Regions from separate parts of the Homo sapiens genome. Here region 1 is linked to region 2. Evidence: promoter capture Hi-C in 16 types of primary human blood cells and fetal thymus (Javierre and others, 2016). All regions are on one chromosome and are shown on one strand. The core of a region is centred on a gene start or on the middle of the fragment in contact, and the rest is flanking DNA. Distances in the headings are between cores, read along the strand shown. Region 1 holds the start of KLK1 (kallikrein 1). Region 2 holds the start of SMIM47 (small integral membrane protein 47).

Region 1 (3,932 bases), core at 378-2,877, 38 kb after region 2:
CATCTGGGCGTCAGGTCATTTGGGGTCTGGGGCTGGGGGATGGGAGGTGGTGGGTTAGGGGAGTGGAAAGGGATTCTGGAAACCAGGGATCAAGGCGCCAAGGGTGGGACAGGATCAGAGGCTCACTGAGGAAGAATCTGGAGGGCTAAGGGGCTCCTAGGCTAGGGAAACAGGACCTGGGTTGGGCTTTTGAGGTTCAGGAAAGGATGCAGCTTTAGGGAACCAGGTCTGAGAGGTAAAGAAGAGCATCTGGACTGAAGAGTTTGGGGGTGACTTGGGGTCCCTACATTGGGGTTGGAAGGGGCCAGCTTGGCTGGGACAGTTAGATTTCAGGGCTTCCTGGTTAAAGGGTAAAAGAAAGGGCTATGGTTAAGGCTAGAGGTGGGCTTCCGAGAGGTTTTGGGGTCCTTCCTGTGAACCAGGAATGGCAATCTGAGGGGAGGTTGGGGCCCTGAGAACACAGTTGCGGTCAGGACTGGGACGGGGCTCAGGAGGAGGGAGGCGTGAGTGGCAGTCCTTCTCGGACAGGGTGAAGGATGGGATCTTCGTTTCTCATGGGGATGGGGTTCATGGTCTGAGGGTACTGGAAGGATATGGGGTCCTCTTGGAGGCAATCCTAGGAAGAGGATTGGAGAAGTGGTGAGAACAGGCGCCAAGCAGCTGTGGGAATGCAATGCAGGACCCACTTGACGTGAGGTTGTAGAATCACATACTGACTTGGGGGAGGCCAGGGCAGAAGCGCTGGCTGAGAAGGCATTCAGGATCCTTGGGGTGGGGTTCCAGAAAACCAGAGCTGTGTAGGAACAATTCAGGCAGAGAAGGGCTGGGGCCTGGGGCGGGATGGAACTTCCCCAAGGAAAGGAGCATGTGGTGGGAGGGTGTGGTGTTTTTCCTGGGAGAGCTGGGGGTGCTGGGTGGGAAGGGACATTTGCAGACCCCCCCCCATACCAGATGGGGGATCCCACATGCCAGTTTGGGAAGCAGGGTTTTCTGGTGAAATTTGGGGGACCCTGGAAGGACTGGGGAGACCAGATGTCAGGGTCTGGAGGACACAGTTGAGAGCGGACAGCTGGATGGAAAAAGTCACTGGAGTGTGGTGGGATTTGTAGACTCAGGAGCCAAATAGGTGGCCGCAGGGAACTAGGGGGCAGGAGGGGATGATCAGAGTCCTGTGGGGTGGGGGAAGCCCATGGGAGGGTTGGGGTCCTCCAGAGAGAGACAGAGATGGCCCAGAATCTGCCCCTTTGGTAAAGCGGTGGGACAGGGCGTTGGCTAGGGAAGAGGAGAAAGTACTGAGGCTTCCTGGGAGGAGCAGGAATCTGGTGTGGGAGTGAGCACTATGACAACATGGAGGAGCGGGGGTGGAAGTTTAGGGTGGGGCCGCGCAAGATAGATAAGAGCCGGGGCACCCCGGACTAGGATAGACTGTGGGCCAGAGGGATGAGGGTGGGGTGTTGGAGGGGAAGGTCTTATCGGGGGGGGATGTGAGGCCAGCAAGAGAATCAGGGCCCGTTCCCCCTCCCACATCCCCCCACTGTCTCACCAGTCCCCCCCAGGGACAGGGCGAGGCACAGAACCAGGAACCACATGGTGACAGAGGTGTCCAGGGGCCAGCAGGTGGAGGAACTGGGGAACCTCCCTGGGGAGGCTTTTAAAAGCCCTTATCCCCTCAGAGCCCCACCCCTGCCCTGCTGGCACCCAGATGTTGGCCAAGGCCCTTCCCCTGTTGCCTGGGGGCTGGACAATTGCCCCCCCCCCCTCCGATCCCCAGAGCTGTAGACGGGGAGGGAGAACCAGCACCTGTTCTGCAGGCCCTGGATCACGCTGGACGCATTCCTGGGGTTGAAGCCAGGTGGGGCAGGGCCTGTGGCTCTGGGGCTTTGCTCTGGGGAGCAGCCAGTGAGGCAAGGGGGGACTGAGGGGAAGCAGAAACAGGAAGACGGAGGAATCAGTGACCCCTGGTACAAAGCCCCATATACCTCAGTCTCAATTAAGGCCCTGCACCCCCAGACCTGGTGCCCTCAAACACCAGCAGTTAGGGCTCTGATTCCCTGCACCACTCGGAGCCAAGATACTAGCATCTCAGCTGCCAGTTCCCCCTGAAATATAAGCCTTGGCCTTCAGAATGCCCTGGTTCTTGCACTCCCAGACCCAGGACCTAGGTCCCCAAAGCTACTGTTCCTTTCATAATAAAATTTTGGGGTACACATCACCACATTCCTAGTGCCTCCAGATCCAGGAATGTGAAGTTTCAGGGGTCTCCCAGGGTAAGTTCTTTAGCATTACAAAATCCAGTGTCCCTCCCAAACAATGCTGGGGTCTCAATGAGCCTCCCACTTCTTGCTCCCAGTTATGGGTGCTCAACGTCCTGTCCTCCAAAGTCCCAGAGATCTGGACAACCTTCCCTCCCAGGTCAAGATCAGGCTAACCACAGATTCCAATGACCCTTCCCCCCCACCACCAGTACAATATTTAGGTCTCACGAGCCAGGTTCATGTACTTCAACATTCAGCGACCTTGAACATCACATTTTGTGGTCTCTGAAGATAATTAGGAACTAGATTCCTGCAGCCTCAATGGTAAACCCATAGGCTTCCAACAGGTTGTCTTGGCTTTTTGGTAAAATCAAAGCAGCTCAGAGTTCCAGCCTCTGCTGTATATCAGGGACCTGGCTAAGGAAAGGACAGTATTTGCCTTTTTGCCATGGCTACCAGGAAGCCCAGAACTAAATCTTTTTTTTTTTTTTTTTTTTTCTGAGATGGAGTCTTGCTCTGTCACCAGGCTGGAGTGCAGTGGCGCGATCTCGGCTCACTGCAACTCCTGCCTCCTAAGTTCAAGCGATCCTCCCACATCACCCTCCCAAGTAGCTAGGATTACAGTCGTGTGCCACCACGCCCGGCTAAATTTTTTTAGTATTTTTAGTAGAGATGGGGTTTCACCATGTTGGCCAGGCTGGTCTTGCACTCCTGACCTCAAGTGAGCCGCCCGCCTTGGCCTCCCAAAGTGCTGGGATTACAGGTGTGAGCCACCATGCCCGGCCCAGAACTAAACCTTAAAGAAAAAGCCATTCTTGGTAATCTAGTGTCTGTTAGGTCCTTTAACTGGGATCCAGAGATAGAGGGTATTTACTCAGTGCCAGACACGATTTTAATCAGTTCAGACGAATCATCTCATTTAATCCTCACAACAGCCCTTTGAAGTCAGCAATAAGATGGTCTCATTTTACAGATAAGGAAACCAAGGCGAAGTGAGATTGGGCCTCTTGTTCAAGATCACACGGGTGGTCATGTGTGTTGAATGAATGGAGCCCTGCTTCAAGCCGCTTCTCCTCACCTAGGGATCGGGGTGGTGGGTGAAAAGGAACAGTGTACAGTGTCTCGGGGTTTCTCTTTGACCCCAGAAAAAAGTCACAGAAATTCCTACAGAGCAACTTGGATCAGCGCTTTGTTATCTTGGCATTAAACAGGTGACCTTGAGCGCCAGCTTTGTCCTCAGGTGGGACAAGTCCTTGGCTAACATCTGGGCCTTGGACAGGGTCTTGGGGGATGGCTCCGTTCTGTTCCATGTCAGGCGGGGCTGCTGGCCAGCTGTGGGGGCTTCTGCTCAGTCAGGGGCACAGGAGATAGGCTAGAATAGTCAGTTCCTCTTCATGGTTTCCCTGATCCACTCCAAGTAGTGGCAGACTTTGGTATAGACACCAGGCTTGGTGGTGTTGTCACAAGGGACGTCACCCCAGGACACAATGCCCTGCAGGATGCCCCCACAGACCAGGGGTCCCCCAGAGTCACCCTGTGGGGAAAAGAGGGGGTCTCAGGTTGAGTGAAACCTCCTGGATTCATCCTCATCCTAATCACCATTTGCAATCTCACCCCAAACCCAATCCATCCCCATCCCAGGGAACCCCAACCCAACTCAACTCAATACAGCCCAGT
Region 2 (3,988 bases), core at 490-2,989:
GCGCATGCCTGTAATCCCAGCTACTCGGGAGGCTGAGGCAGGAAAATTGCTTGAACCCAGGAGGTGGAGGTTGCAGTGAGCTGAGATTGCACTGTTGCACTCCAGCCTGGGCAACAAGAGCAAAACTCTGGGAAGAAGGAAGGAAGGAAGGAAGGAAGGAAGGAAGGAAGGAAGGGAGGGATGGAAGGAAATTTGTTGGGCTTTTTCAGGAAAACCTAGCACGTGCAGTCAACCCTACTCCAAAGCTGGCTTTTCAGATATTGAGCTGAAATGAAATTGCTTTTGACTAGATGAGAAGGTAGGTGAAATGCAATTGAAGGTGGAAGTGTCCCCCAGGGCATTGACCTGAGGATGCTGGAGGTAGAGGCAGGGGGTGGGGGAAGGGCGCTAAGCAAGGGGGCTGCTAGCGAACTGCCTGTGGGGGCGGGTCTGCACATTTTTATAGGAAGGGACATTGCTGGTGGGTGTTGAAGGTTAAATAGGAGTTTGTTAAGAAAAGAGGCTGAGCACAGTGGCTCACACCTGTAATTCCAACACTTTGGGAGGCTGAGGTAGGAGGATTGCTTGAGGCCAGGAGTTAGAGACCAGCTTGGGTGACATAGTGAGACCCTGTCTCTAAAAAAAATTAAAAAGTTAGCTGGGCATGGTGGTGAACACCTACAGTCCCAGCTACTCAGGAGGCTGAGGCAGGAGGACTGCTTGAGCCTGGGAGTTCAGGGTTGCAGTGAGCTATGATCATACCACTGCACTCTAGCCTGGGCAATAGAGTGAGATCTCATCTCAAAAAGAAAAGAAAAAAGAGGAAGATGTGTTGATACAGTATGACAGTGATGAAGATGATGACGATAACTACAGACCCACTGCAGCTGACAAAGTGCATTCACATTTTGGATCTCTGGCTGCCCTGGCTGTGGTTTTTTGGGGCCCATTGGACAAAGATTTTCGCCTTTGTCTGATGGAGAAGAAATCACGGGATCAAGGGAAATAACAAATCCGAAGTACACAGCAGCCTGTGTTGGTGCCGGGTGCTCAATGTGCCCTGCTTGTTCTTCCCTCTGTGCCCTTACACCAGGTTGAAATGTTCTTCCTCTTCTTGGAATTTCCCCACAGACTCCTACTCATCCCTGAAAACCCAGCGCAGATTCCCAGCTCCTAGCCTCAAACCTGCGAGGGTGGGTCCTCACCACTCTCCTACCTCAGACCCTGGAGTCCGGACCCCCACCCCACTCCCTTCTGAAACACAGAGCCCCAGGTGTGGTGTAGGCCCGAGGCCGGGCGCAAGGGCAGTGGGTCGGCGGAGCAGGATGTGCGGATTCAGTTACATTTATCTGGCCTCAGAGCGATGGCAGAGGGAGAGGCAGGGCTCTTGTGCGGGGAGGTCCTGTGTCTTCTCACTGCTGAGCCTGAGAGAGGAAAACAGGGACATATACAGAGATGTGGGAGAGAAAGAGAGACCAAGATGACAGAACTGGACCAGGGAGACAGAGACTCAGCCCCCACCTCCGCTCTTCTCCCGCTCACCTTGTTGAAGAAATAGATGGAGGTCAGGATGGTGAACAAGGCCATGGCCAGGGTCACATTCTGGGGGGGAGATCAGAGGTCAGGACCCTTCCCCTCCCTGCCCTCTGCCCAGCCCCAGGCCTCCCTTCCCTGCCAGACCCCTCCTCACTTCCTGAAAGTTCATGGCCTTGGGACTCCAGCCACCCCTTGGTTGGTCTTCTCTCTCTTTCCTGGGCCTCTGAGCCAGAGGGGGGAGAAGCCACTGGAACTCCGAGAGGGGGTTGTCGGAGAGACCAGAATGGTGGCCATGGCAACGGGGAAAGGGCATTCTGGTAGAGGGGACAGGCAGGGGCATAGGGCAGATACAGACCCTGGTGTGGCCCGCCACATGTGGTGTCTGAATGTGACATCGGGACGTGTGAGATTGGAGAGTCTCAACCCTGAACACCATACTGAGGTGTTTGGGTTTTGCCCCGGAGGGTGCTGGGGAGCCATGAGAGGGTTGAGAGCAGGGGAGGGACCAGGTCAGTTCTGGGTATAGAAATATCTCAAAACAGGAGCCTGCAGGCCAGGAGAACAGTAAGGGAGGCCCAGGCAAAATTTCCTCCTCCAGATGGGAGGATCACTTGAGCCCAGGGGGTTGAGGCTGCCATGAGCCAAGATCACGCCACTGCACTCCAGCCTGGGCAAGAGTGAGATCCTGTCTCCACAACTAACAACTAAGAAAAAATAAAATAAAATACATATGATACATTTGTGAGATACCTATTTACCTATCTATCGCTACCACAAAAATGGGGACTATACAATCTGCTACTCAGGTAGCTATTTGCGTTATTTGTGGCAGATATAGTCTCGCTATTTTTGGTAGTTATGTTGTACAACTGTGAACACTTATTGGGGAAATATATGTGTGTGTGTGTATATGTATACACACACACACACACACACACACACACACACACACACAAACACATATATATAGGGTTGGGTGCAGTGGCTCATGCTTGTAATCCCAACACTTTGGTTAAGTGAGACAGTAGAATTGCTTGAGCCCAGGAGTTCAAGGCCAGCCTGGGCAACATTGTAAGACCCCATCTCTTTAAATATATATAAATATAGGCCAGGTGCCGGTGGCTCACACCTGTTTTCCCAACACTTTGGGAGGCCGGGGCGGGAGGATCACCTGAGGTCAGGAGTTTGAGACCAGCCTGGCCAACATGGCGAAACTCCATCTCTACTAAAAAACAAAAAAACAAAAAAATTAGCCGGGCATGGTGGTGCACGCCTGTAGTCCCAGCTATTTGGGAGGCTGAGGCACCAGCAACACTTGAACCCCAGGCGGAGGAGGTTAAATTGAGCCGAGATTGTGCCACTGCACTCTAGCCTGGGCAACAGAGCGAGACTCCATCTCAAAATAATAATAATAAATAAAAATAAATAAATAAATAGAAAATAAATAGAAAAATATATACTTTTATTAATGAAGCAATGGGTCCTTATTTGCTGATTCAGTGGTCACAGTTATACAACATCGCTACTATGAATAACAAGAATTGATTGTAAACACGGTACCTCACGGCACTACCCAGAACATTCCAGAAGGCAACACATTCTGCAGAGCAAACGGCACCGTCTCTCCAACAAATCCATGCCACAGTGCAAAACAAAAGCAAGTAGCCTTGCTATATTTGAAAAAAATCCGTTAAGAGACACAAGACCAGCTTTGAGGGGTGATCCTGGACCGGGTTTTGGCTTGGACAAAACAAGTTATAAAGGCTCTTTGTGGGTGGAGGCCGAGGTGGGCGGATCACCTGAGGTCAGGAGTTTGAGACCAGCCTGGCCAACATGGTGAAACCCTGTCTCTACTAAAAATACAAAAATTAGCCAGGTGCAGTGGTGTGCACCTATAGTCCCAGCTACTCAGGAGGCTCAGGCACGAGAATCATCAGAACCCAGGAGGCAGAGGTTGCAGTGAGCCGAGATCGTACCACAGCACACCAGCCTGTGTGACAGAGTGAGATCCTGTCTCAAAAAACAAAACAAGACAAAGTCTCTTTGGGGAGAAACGGAGGGACATTTGAATAGGGAATGGGTATCAGACAAGACGAAAGCACTACTGCCAAGGAGAAGAGGAGGTTAACTGAAAGACGCAGGTTACAAAATTGCAGGTTCTGTATGATCTCATTTTGGTAAGAAGTACATACATGAAAAACTGCATTTAAACATCAGGTTTCACTCTGTCGTCCAGGATGGAGTGGAGTGACAGAATCAGGGCTCACTGCAGCCTCGACTTCAGGCTCAAGCGATGAGTGGCTGGGACTACAGGCATATGCCACTACACCTGGCCAGTTTTTTGGTATTTTTAGTAGAGATGGGGTTTCACCATGTTGCCCAAGCTGGTCTCAAACTCCTGGATTCAAGTGATCTGCCCACCTTGGCCTCCCAAAATGACAGGATTACAGGTGTCAGCCACCATGCCTGGCCC

The links. The method cuts DNA at HindIII sites, captures the fragments that hold promoters and counts their contacts. A CHiCAGO score of 5 or more calls a contact.
Region 1: the fragment with the promoter of KLK1 here is called in contact with the fragment with the promoter of SMIM47 in region 2 in 2 of 17 cell types (activated CD4 T cells and neutrophils); the score reaches 6.6 in activated CD4 T cells.

The regions. Positions count from the first base shown.
Region 1 is chr19:50,822,160-50,826,091 of GRCh38, forward strand. KLK1 (kallikrein 1) reads right to left here and starts at 1,628. Exons shown (of 5, transcript NM_002257.4): 1 at 1,544-1,628. The coding sequence starts at 1,589. It overlaps KLK15 (kallikrein related peptidase 15), which reads right to left. Exons shown (of 6, transcript NM_017509.4): 6 at 3,130-3,789. The coding sequence ends at 3,637. The HindIII fragment of the contact is 16,614 bases long and covers 1-3,932 here.
Region 2 is chr19:50,784,421-50,788,408 of GRCh38, forward strand. It overlaps SMIM47 (small integral membrane protein 47), which reads right to left and starts at 1,740. Exons shown (of 3, transcript NM_001384597.1): 1 at 1,670-1,740; 2 at 1,522-1,581; 3 at 1,308-1,403. The coding sequence starts at 1,684. The coding sequence ends at 1,392. It overlaps LOC105372439 (a long non-coding RNA gene), which reads right to left. Exons shown (of 4, transcript XR_936026.3): 4 at 2,961-3,988. The HindIII fragment of the contact is 13,889 bases long and covers 1-3,988 here.